Regions from separate parts of the Homo sapiens genome. Here regions 2 and 3 are each linked to region 1. Evidence: promoter capture Hi-C in human tissues and cell types (Jung and others, 2019). All regions are on one chromosome and are shown on one strand. The core of a region is centred on a gene start or on the middle of the fragment in contact, and the rest is flanking DNA. Distances in the headings are between cores, read along the strand shown.

What was found. Contacts are between HindIII fragments. The study calls those that stand out against the background at their distance.
Region 2: a fragment that was not itself captured here is called in contact with the fragment with the promoter of LY86 in region 1 in 1 of the 25 tissues and cell types used here (heart left ventricle).
Region 3: a fragment that was not itself captured here is called in contact with the fragment with the promoter of LY86 in region 1 in 1 of the 25 tissues and cell types used here (spleen).

What each region holds. Positions count from the first base shown.
Region 1 is chr6:6,586,479-6,590,213 of GRCh38, forward strand. It overlaps LY86 (lymphocyte antigen 86), which reads left to right and starts at 2,242. Exons shown (of 5, transcript NM_004271.4): 1 at 2,242-2,392. The coding sequence starts at 2,257. The region is part of intron 1 of LY86-AS1 (LY86 antisense RNA 1); the gene reads right to left. RefSeq lists enhancers at 539-628, 639-768. The HindIII fragment of the contact is 16,234 bases long and covers 1-3,735 here.
Region 2 is chr6:5,512,222-5,516,515 of GRCh38, forward strand. All of the region lies in intron 4 of FARS2 (phenylalanyl-tRNA synthetase 2, mitochondrial), which reads left to right. Among named protein-coding and RNA genes, the nearest start is that of FARS2-AS1, 56 kb to the left of the region's middle. The HindIII fragment of the contact is 6,166 bases long and covers 1-4,294 here.
Region 3 is chr6:5,281,790-5,285,663 of GRCh38, forward strand. All of the region lies in intron 1 of FARS2 (phenylalanyl-tRNA synthetase 2, mitochondrial), which reads left to right. Among named protein-coding and RNA genes, the nearest start is that of FARS2, 22 kb to the left of the region's middle. The HindIII fragment of the contact is 8,093 bases long and covers 1-3,874 here.

The sequences.
Region 1 (3,735 bases), core at 992-3,491:
ATCCCTGAATTATGATTCCTTTCATTTCCAGGTCTTTTGATTCTCAAGAATCTGTACCCCTGTCTTCAGATGACACTGTTTCTGCAATAAAGCCAATGTTTGTGGCCCTGCCCAAACTCATATGTTGAAATCCTAAGCCTCAAGGTGATGGTATTAGGAGGAAAGGCCTTTGGGAGGTGATTAGGTCATAAGAATGGAGCTCTCATACATGGGATTAGTGCCTTTATAAAAGAGGCCTAAGAGAAACCCTTCGCCCCTTCCACCATGTGAGGGCACAGCCAGAAGGCACCATTTGTGAACCAGAGGCCCCTCACCAGACACTGAATCTTCTAGCACCTTAATCTCCAACTTTGGACCTCCACCCTCCAAAATGGTGAGAAATAAATGCTTGTCATTTAAGCCACCCAGTCTAAGGTATTTGTTATGGCAGCCAGAACATACTAAGACCATTTCCCTGCCACAGCTGCCCACAGCTCTCTGCTAGGTTTTCTGCTCCCTGCCCTGCACTCCTGGACTCCTCCTCCAGTGTCAATCATGACGCACTTTGCAGGGAAGGAAGTTCTCACCCTCAATTGCTCTCCTCACTCACATATGTTCAGAGCTCTCTTTACAACTGCTGGAGCACTCACATATCCCAAGGGAAAGCTTCTGTGTTCCATCCTGGACCTTCTAGGGGCTACCACGCTTCCACCAGGGCCGCTGCTCTCACCATAAGCTTCAGACTCTCATCTCCCGAGATCTTGCTCACAGCGCAGCTGCCTTCCGCTCACACAGGCCAGAGGGGCCACCTTGTCTCTTCTTAGAGCAACTTCCCACCACTCCCTTGGGGCTCAACCTTCGCTTTATGTTCTGTAAAAGCCAGCAGTTCTCAAACTTGAGACTGCATCAGGCACACCTGGAGGGCTTGTGAAAATCCAGAATGGTGAGTCCCGCCCCCCAGAGTTTCTGATTTAATAGGTCTTGAGTAGCCCAGAATTTGCATCTCTAACAAGCCCCCAGTGGAAGCTGAGGCTGTCATCTTCCCAGGCCGCACTTTGAGAACTGCTGTTGAAAGCCATCATCACTGAACTTATTTGCAGAGGTACCTAAAAATAATCAATCCACAACTGTTCCTTCTCCAAATGACCACTCTCTGATGTCTATCAAGAAATCCAAATTATTTACCAATTAATTTATTGGTAATTATGTTCCACCTATTTCAAAAAAAGTTTTGAGCTAACTCTAATTTTTGCTTAGCCATCAGCAGAAATAGTAAATTTACCTAGTGCATTCAGAAAAATGCTGTTCCTCCCAGGGAAAATAGTGTTTTCTATTGCTCCTGAAATCTGCTGACCTTGGCACTGACTCTGGTCCTCTTACATTAAGGTGAAGCTGGGGCGGGGTTGAGGAATCAAGACTGAGAAACCTTGCTGTCCTGCAGCAGAATAGAGATACATGGAAGAAGGAAGACAGAATCTTGGCTTTGAAGAGAAAGTGAGATGTGATGTCAATGATCCCACTAACACCAAAACCAGCAAACCAGCCTCCTTAAGGGTGGCCCCACCTCCCCACCCTTCCTACTTTTTCTACCAAGCCAAACCCAGAAATAGAACACGGCTCACTTCTCAGGGCTATTGCCTCTGCCTCATCTCCAGAGACCACATCTGCAGCTCCCAAAACAAGGTCTGTTCTGCAGCTGGACAATTCACTGCTAAAATCCCAAACCTAAGAGCAGAGCCAAAGCCAGAGGAGAGGAAAGTGACAATAGGGCCAAAGCCTCATTCCAGATTCCAAATGTCATTCTGTAGCCCTCGTGCTATCAACTGCTGCCTGCTGGCTGCAGCCAGGTCCCTGGGTCCATACACAGCCTGCATCAAGAGCCTGCAGAGACTCGGGGGCTGGAGATGGGAAACAGATGGTGGCCTGCGCTTTGTCTTTCCCAAGTTTACAGCCTCACCTGGGGGTGGAGGCTGTTCTGAGGGGCCCCCAAGAGGTAAGTTCACGCATCACTACTGACCCTCTCCCTGTGAAAGCAGAAAGTCAGCACGCATCCTACCCCAGACCAGACCAGCCACACCTGTAGATTCAAGGTCCTGGGGGAACAGTATTCAAATGCCTCTGCTCTCAGCCTTTTACTTCTGACTGTGGTTCCCAGCGAGTCTAAAATTTGAGAAGTGAAACTGAACATCCAACTGCCTTGGTGAGGGGAGAGGAAGAAATTTTACAGGCTTTTTATTGGCCGGTTATTTTTCTGTGTGTCCCATACAGGCCCCCACCATGAAGGGTTTCACAGCCACTCTCTTCCTCTGGACTCTGATTTTTCCCAGCTGCAGTGGAGGCGGCGGTGGGAAAGCCTGGCCCACACACGTGGTCTGTAGCGACAGCGGCTTGGAAGTGCTCTACCAGAGTTGCGGTAAGCCCTTGCAGTACACCCATGTGTGTTTATGGGGAAAGCAAGGCCCACAGATGTGAGCCGCTAGTGCTCAGTTGGAGTTGGGGTGGGAGGGGAGAGGGGACCAGCAGCTGAACACTTTCTCCACCTGCAGCAGGTCTGGGAGGGCCACTGGGAGCTTTTGGAAGAAGGAGCGGTGGGGCCAGGACTGGGAGCGGAAGAGAATGGCAGAACAACAAAGAGTACAAGAAAGAGAAATTGAATCTAAATATAGCCATTTACTAACACCACAGAACCCAAAAAAGAACAAAATGATCAGTGAGTCTACCAAATCATCAAACCTCACCAGCTGAAAATTAGGAAAAGCAGCTTCCAGTAGGCCCTTCCTCAACACCGTACACCTGGGCTACCTTTCCATCTGATGTACTTTGCAAGTGAAGTGAAAAGATCACTTCTGCCCAAAGAGAAGATTCCTGTCCCTCTCTGGACACTTTCAGAGCTTTCACTGCAGCAGTAGCTCTCATGAATTCAGCAAGCACTTCGCATGCAGCTATCAATGCCAGGGTTTCTCAGTGCTAGAGATAATAAAAGTGCATATGCCAGGCCTGTCACCCCAGCGGGCCAACCCAATACGCCAACAGATAATTGCAATTCAGTGAAGAGAATGCAGTGAACTGTGGTAAGAAGTGTCAGAACCAACCAATCGGGCTGTGTCTTAGTCAGCTAGGGCTGCCATAACAAACCACCACAGGCTGGGGACTTAAATAACAGATTTATTTCCTCACAGCTCTGGAAGCTGGGCTGGTTTCTCCTGAGACCTCTCTTCTTTGCTTCTAGGTGGCATCTTCTCCCTGTCTCCTCATGTGCTCTTCCCTCTGTGTACATCTGTGTCCTCATCTCCTCTTCTTATAAGTACACAATCATATCAGATTAGGGCCCACCTCCATGGCCTCACTTTAGCTTAATCAGCTCTTTAAAGACCCTATCTCCAGCAGGGCATGATGGCTCACACCTGTAATCCCAGCACTTTGGGAGGCTGAGGAGGGTGAACCACTTGAGGTCAAGCATTCAAGACCAGCCTGACCAACATGGAAAAACCCTGTTTCTACTAAAAATATAAAATTAGCTGGGCATGGTGGCACGCGCCTGTAATCCCAGCTACTTGGGAGGCTGAGGCAGAATTGCTTGAACCCAGGAGGTGGAGGTTGCAGTGAGCCAAGATCGTGCCATTGTACTCCAGCCTGGGCAAGAGGAGCGAAACTCTGTCTTAAAAAAAAAAAAAAAAAAAAAAAAGACCCTATCTCCACATACAGTCACATTCTAAGATACCGTAGTCCCCCCCCAGTCTGCTAGGAATACGTTCC
Region 2 (4,294 bases), core at 514-3,013, 1.1 Mb before region 1:
GATTCAGCTGAATTCAGGCCACACAGCTAATTAGAGGGAGAGCCAGTTCTGGAATTGACTTCAGGTCCTCCGACTCCCAGGGCAATGCTCTTTCCATTACCTGGTGCTACCTCTATGCTACCTCAATCAATAGCAGCCAAATTAAAAACAAAATGAAACAAGAAGGGCATGTCTTCTCCTTGGGGTCACTAATAATTTATTCTGATTTTACCTCTCAAGACTTGCATTGTTCATGTTCCTGAAGGAAATTAGCAAAGGCTTTTGGGTGTCTTTATGAAGGAGAAATCATTGCTTTCTACCTACTTGTATTCCACTTTGTGTCCTAAGCTAAGGTAGATGGTTTGCCCGTCAATTATTTGTCCATCCATTTAGTCTGAAAACATTACTCAGCATTTCCTAGGTTACAGATGCTGTGCCAGGCACCCGAGATTCAAATGTGATAAAGACATTGATAATTTGGTGACAAAGGACAATTCAAGCAGAAGGCCTAGTAAATGTAAAAACACAAACACTTTCATGCATTCATTCTTTTCAGCAAAAAATATGTATTAAGCACAAAGTAGGTGACAGGAACTGTGTGTGCTAGGTGTCATTAGTAGGCATAAAAAAAGGAGAACATAGGTTGGGGACTGCAAATAGTTCATTATGGCAGAAGCACAGGTCTCACATGGGAGAATATGGGAGTGAGGGAAAAATGTAGACTGATGTCCAGTCATCAGACACACTGGGGACCCTGGATAGGTTTGACGCAAGAAAGTGTCCTTGTCTGATTTTCATCCTAGACACTCCAATTGCAGATGCGTGGGTTGGGTTGGAGAGGGGTGGATGGCAGGCTGGAAAACCTGATGGAGGCTATGGGAATATTTCCTAGGGGAGAGGGTGGACACTATGAGGTGGCGGTGGTTGGGATGGAGAGAAACTAGGTTCACGAAGGAATCCAGAGGTCAAAATCAGCAAGTCCTAGTGACTCATCTCATGTGACAGGTGAGGGAGGGAATGGAGTTCAGATAGTCAGGAACCTTGTGAACAGCGAGGTTATTACCTGAGACTGGAACTCTGGGGAAAGGAGCTGAGCCGTGTTTGTGTTGTATCCACATTAACTTGAGCAGTGCCTGACATGTAGGAGGGACTCAGTCAATGTTTTTGAGTGAATACCTGAATATTACAAAAAGGACCATACCAGAAAGTACTGACAGGGGAAGTTATCCTAATTCAGAAGGCCATGGGAGGCCACCTGAAGAAGTGATATTTAGCCGAAGGTCTAGAATGATTTGGAGGCAATCAGGGAAAATAGAGAAGTTTGCACTCTTTGTGTTCGAGTCTCAAATGCCATCCAGGGCGCCTGTGTCTTTTCGTTCTGGCTGCTGCCTCTACCTTTTTCTACTCCTGGCATTGCCTTGTGGCCTTCTGTTCCTGAGCCTCTTCTGTGTGTGCAGGGAGGCAGCAGGTTGTCCAGGGTGATAAGAATGGTAACGTCATAGTAACTACTGTTTATTAAGCGTTTAGTTTCCTGATCTCATTCAGCAGCCCTCAGTCACAGAAAATGAATGCTGAGTTCTCAGAGTTTATTGCTGTCTAAGTGGGCACGTAGGCCCTAGTCAGGGCCCTGCCAGGTTCCCAGGGTGGGGAAGGCTTTCTGTACCATTACAGATCACAAGAGTTCAAGAAAAAATGACTTTATGAGGTATCTTTAGGTTATCTAAAAAAAAAAAATTTAACAACTATTGATCCAGCCAAATGCACTGTTGTATCTCTTCATTGGGGATTTGTGTTCTCCCATGGTATACAGGAGGTTTGAGGATACTTAAGGAGAGTATACAATGCAGTAAAGTAGGGAAAAAATAGAAAATTAACATAAAAATCTGGACATATATATATATATATATATGATAAAGTGAATCTAGGAATGTGCCAGATGTGTTGTAGTTTAAAGAAATATTGTGTGTATTACAGATTCACAAATATGCAGCCAAACCCTTAAATGAAGCATAAGTAATCTGCCAGCCACCTAGTTAAAGCAAGTTTTGTGAATTATAATGAAATTCTCTCCAAGTACACATTTCTAATGGAAGGAAATTTACTTTAGAGGAACATTAAAAAGACAAAATTCTTGATCGTCTCAGAAATGTGGGTAGCCTTGTCTTGCATAGTCATTCTGTAATAGTAATTGGGACTTGCCTAATTGCATTTATTATTTAGAGAGGCTTGGCTGCATTTAAAAGTCTAAACATTCATGAAAATCTGTTCTAAATGTCTAAAAGTTTTTCAGTATGAATTTAAAGTTGGGACATTCTGGCCTTAGGGAATTCACCCCACAATTGGCTGAACTATTTTTGTTGAAACACAAAGTAATCATGGTTTCAGTTTGTAAATTAGCTATTGCTGTGAGCTGCTGTACCTGGTGAAGAGAATTTTCTCTGAAATTGACAACTCTCTTTCCAAATGTTCCACTACAGTCTTATACTGACATCCCTTGACATCCCTATGGGTACAGTCATGAGATTCAAATTGTACATTCTTAATCTTCCCCCAAAATGACATCTGTGGCTTTTTTTTTTTTTAAGAGATGGAGTCTCACTGTGTTGCCTAGGCTGGAGTGCAGTGGCATGAACATGGCTCAACTGCAGCCTCAACCTCCTGGGCTCAAGTGATCATCTTGTCTCAGCCTCCCAAGAAGCTGGGAGTACAGGTGCATGCCATGCCTGGCTAAATGTTTTTTGTTTTTTGTTTTTTTTTTCAAGAGATGGGGTCTTACTGTTGCCCAGACTGGTCTTGAATTCCTGGTCTCAAGTGGTCCTCCTGGTTCAGCCTCCTGAGTAACTGGGATTACACGGACAAGCCTTCAAGCGAAACTCCATCTGTGGCTTTTAATTAAAGATGGACGTATTGTAATCTATGTGGCCATAGGGAAATAATAGCAAATAGTAAAATTGAAAGAGGTACATCTGACAGTAATAATAAAAACTTTTTTGTAATTCTGGAAATAATGTGACACCGCACTGCTACTCAGAGATAACAAATGAAGCTTAATTGAAGTTCCATGAAACTCTTGCCAATAGGAATTTCTCATGGTGTATGATTACCATGTGGAACGAAAACTCTAGGTCCTAGACTCAGACAATGACTATGATATAGTCATTTCATGGGGATATTGCCATTTTAGAAAAAGTAGTGCTTGAAACCTGATTCAGCGTTTTTTTATTTTTATTTTTATTTTTATTTTTTGAGACAGAGTCTCCCTCTGTCACCCAGGCTGGAGTGCAGTGATGTGATCTCAGCTCACTACAACCTCCATCTCCTGGGTTCAAGCATTTCTTGTGCCTCAGCTTCCCAAGTAGTTGGGATTATAGATGTGCACCAGCACGCCCAACTAATTTTTGTATTTTTAGTAGAGAGGGGGTTTTGCCATGTTGGCCAGGCTGGTCTTGAACTCCTGGCTTCAAGTGATCTGCCTGCCTTGGCCTCCCAAAGTGCTGGGATTATAGGTGTGAGTCACTGTGCCCAGCCCAGCATTTGATTTTGACTGTGTGTTTTAGACATTGATAATTTTATAGGACTTTAATCAGGTTTTATACCTGATACGTCTTAAATTTAATGTATAATTTAGCATATCATTTTAAAACAAAAATAGAAAAATATTTTAAGTGGGTTTACGTTTAGTAATTTATATCATATTAATTACATTTGTTACAGTACTCAACTTCAAGATGCACAGCCCTATGTGTGTAATTTAGTTTGCTGTGTTAGGGTAATTAAGCATGAGCTGCTGCAACAGAAAAAACATCTCAAAACCTCAATCACTTAGCACAACGAGGTTATGTCTTGTTCTTGCAAATGCTCCGAGTCTGCAGTGGTTGACCCCTCCATGTGGTAACTCAGCATAAGCAGCCAGGGCCCTTCCAGACTGTGGCAGTGCCAGCCCAATAGTAGTTCTGGGGTCAGGGAACAGAAGCATGGAATCGTCACACCAGCTCTTGAATGTCTCTGCCCAGAAGGGACACGTTTCACTTTCACACATACTTTATTGGCTAGAATGAGTCACGTAGCCCCATTAGACTATAGAGGGGCCAGAAAGTGTAGCACAAGGAATATTCGTGTAACAGTATGTTCTCTGCCGTGTCATCTTGGAAGTAATTGACAGCAGTAGTAACAGCAACAACAACCAAAAGGGTTTGCAATAGTATAGGTTCTCTCTAATTTGTAAATGGATTTTAATTATACATTTTGTTTGATTAATGTGCATAGTTGACACAGCCACAGAAGCGGAGTGCTGTAACGAAAGCTATAGGGACCT
Region 3 (3,874 bases), core at 174-2,673, 1.3 Mb before region 1:
TGCCTTGTATTGGGAAATGGTAGACACTTCTCGAGGACCTGAAACCATTCAATTTAGTCAGTGCTCCTAGCCATCACTAACCTTATGTGTTCACCCGGAGTCAGATCATTTCTCTCATTTAAGAAAACAATAATTCTAGAAAATGACTTTTAAGTGACAGGTGGTAAAATGGACTGTCTTGAGTATGTGCTTGATACTCCAAACTTTACCAGTCTGCACTGAGAAGGCAAAAAGAATCAGTAACTGTTATGTAATATTTTTAATACTTCCTAGCTTGTCAGTATAATGCCATTGTGAATGCTGTGCAACCATGCAAAATAAGTACATTGAAATGTAGGGATTCAGATGGCTTTTTAGTCATTTAATGAGCAATAGGAATTTTTGGAATTTCAAGGAAAGTGTTACCTTGCCAGAGGACTTGCTCTGTATTGCTAGGGAGTCTCACTGCTCAGGAGACTGAGGAACAGAGCAGGGCATGCAGCCTATCATTGCCGTGGCTGCTTAGAAGGAAGCAGCAGCAAGCAGGCATGAGAGGCAGCCTATTTCAGGGGTTGCAAAAGAAACACATGGTCCATGGCGCTTAGGGGAGGGAGCATTCACATCCCAGGCGGACACCAGGGGAAGCGCCTGAGGTTGGTGGTGGTTTCAGTAGGTGCTGAAGGCCACGAGCCATTTTAGCCGGTGCATATGGGGAAGGGAGACAATCATGACATGGGCATTCCTGATAAAGGAGGCCACCGGAGTTGAGGGTTAGTGGTAGGGAAAAAAAGAGCAGCTGTTCGAGTTTTGATCAGCTGGAGTGTGCGATTTAGTCCCTGGAAGAGAAAGGGGCTTGGGCCCGTGTGGAGCACTTTGATAGGCTAAGTGGAACCCTGATTTTGTGAAACTTAATAAACTGGTGCTTTAGAAAGGTGGGTCCAGGAATGGTGCCTAGCGTCAATCAGAGAAGATAAGTTATTTAAAAGGGAAAGTGGTTAAAGGCTGTTTTAATTCTCCAGGAGGAAGATGCTGAGGGTCTCTACATTATGTCCATTGTGATGAGGGTGGAAAGGAGGGCCAAATGGCAGAGATATTGTCCAGACAGAGGCTGGCTGAACAGCAGGGATAAAGGAGAGAGTGGCCATAAAGCCTAGTGGCTTGCAATGCATATAGTATAACATTCAAGGGCCAGGCACGGTGGCTTACACCTGTAATCCCAGCAGTTTGGGAGGCTGAGGCAGGTGGATCATTTGAGGTCAGGAGTTCAAGACCAGACTGGCTGACATGGTGAAACCCTGTCTCGACTAAAAATTCAAAAAAAATGCAGGATATGGTGGCCCACACCTGTAATCCCAGCATTTTGGGAGGCTGAGACAGGCAGATCACCTAAGGTCAGAAGTTTGAGACCAGCCTGACCAATATGAAGAAACCCCATCTCTACTAAAAATACAAAAATTAGCTGGGCATGTTGGCATGCGCCTGTAATCCCAGCTACTCAGGAGGCTGAGATAGGAGAATCACTTGAACCTGGGAGGTGGATGTTGCAGTGAGCTGAGATTGTGCCATTTCACTCCAGCCTGTGCAACAAAAGTGAAACTCCTGTCTCAAAAAAAAAAAAAAAAAAAAACAAATTAGCCAGGCGTCTTGGTGGGCATCTGTAGTCCTGGCTACTCGGGAGGCTGAGGCAGGAGAATTGCTTGAACCCAGGAGGTGGAAGCTGCAGTAAGCTGAGATTGCGCCACTGCACTCCAGCCTGGGCAACAGAGCGAGACTTTGTTTCAAAAAAAAAAAAAAAAAATCAGAAGGCATAAATACATACAGGATGAAAAATCAGCTTCTCTCCTGTCTCTGTCCTTCAGCTCTTACCTGGTCTTAGACATTTTCTTATATATGCATGTATATGCATAAACTACATTTATATCGCATTTCTAAAAGGTGTCAGGTACCATTCACACTATTCTTGTTTTTATCCTTTAACAGTATATCTCACAGATACCCTGTATCAAATGTATCAATACATGTAGAGGTGCCTTATTCTTAATTTACTTAGCCAGTCCCCAATCAATAAAAATTTGTTTCCTGTCTTCAGCTTTTACAAATTGTTTAGTGAATATAATATCCTCATTCAGGCATCATTTTGCACACATACAAACAGGTATATATGTAGGTTTAAATTATTGCTTGCCGAAATAAAGGATATATGCATTTAAAATGTTGATAGATATTGTCAAATTATCTTCTACAAAGGTTTTTACCAGCAATGCCTCTTTCTTAGACCCTTACTGATAGTGTTATCAAACAATTTGATCTTTCCCAAACTGCACATTAAAAATACTATCTAATTGTCATTTCAATTTGCATTTCTCTCATGAATGCTATTGAGCACCTTGTTACAGCTTTCAGAGGCATTTGTAATTCATTTCGGGGGATCGTTCTGTCATTAGCTCATTCTCATTTTGCTATTCAGAGGTTGGACTTATATGGAGTGCTGGTGATGGTTTCTCATAAATCACTATTCTGGAGTTTTGGTGGATATATTAAGGCAACAGTCTTCCTATTTTATTAAAAGTTTATTTGTCTTAAGAGGGAATTTTAACTTTGGTCCAATGTCTGGGGAGCTGATGGTATGCTGTTTCTCTTTCGATCGTAGGACAAGTTAGAGAAATAGATTTCCTATCTTGAATTATGGGGTGTGTGCCTGCAATCCACCACCTGCTCTGGCTGTCGTGCAGTGTTCTTCCATGGCTTCTGGGTTCTGTTTGTTAACATTTTATTTGAGATTTCTGCATATAGATCATAAATAGTGCTTATGTTTTATATGTTATTTATCACTGGAACTACTTTTCAGAGATCACCAGTCGCCTTCTGGTGATTACATTAACACTCCCTCACCTTGTTTACTGTCTTCCATCCCCTTCAACTCATCTGTGGCATTTCACACCCTGACTAGTGTTCTCATTTCACCTTCTTGAAATGTTCTCCCTCCTCTTCTGTGATGTGAAGAGCTGAGCTCTGTGGTCCTTGGTGGGTCTTCCTCCTCTCAGCGCTTCTGTCTTCTCCCCAGAGCCTCCCTCCGTGGCCTTTCGACTCCGGTGATCACTGGCATGGGCCTCTCTCAAGCATTGCTTAACATGTTCATCTGCATGGCCTGCCATCACCTGGAACTCAATGTGTCTGAAACAAACTCAGTCGTCACCCCCACCCCAAGTCAGCTTCTCACTCAACCTCTAACGTTTTGTTAAGGATCCTGGCTCCAGCATGTGTGGAGTGCCTTCCATGTGCCTGGCTCTAAGAAGCCAGGTAGCAAGGAGAAAAAGTGACAGCAAAGGGGGCAGGCAACAAATACAGATTTCAAGAGACTTGAAGCGAGAAAGAAAAGGCCACAGGTTGGAGAGGGAGAGGCTGACAGGAGCCTGATCTGTCTGAGGTGCAGAAGCAGTCAGGGTGAGAAGCATCGGATGCAGTGACGGAAGAGGCCAAAGGGAGCAGTGTCCAGGAGGCGACCGAGGGGAGCAATAAGCTGGAGGAGGAGTCCAGAGGGAGAAGGGGAGGAAGGCAGGATCTAGAGAGACTGATGGGGGAACACCAGCTGCCGGAGGATGAGGCCTGTGCTGAGAAGAGTGGGGTTTGGTTCTTGAGGAGAATAGACATTTTAAGTCCTCTGAACATTTTTCTTAATGTGTATTATACCTTTGTGAGCAAAATGCTGTTCTCAGCTACTTTTGAGAGACTCGTAAAGCGTGTAGGAGGACACGGAGGACCATGGGGGACTCATCTTTGCACATGGTGGGTGCTCGCAGTTATTCCTTGAATGTAAGGCTGCATCAGCAAGTGCATTCTCTCTTCAGGCAAGACTGCTTTTCAAATCTCTCCATTAGCAGTTCCATATCAGCAG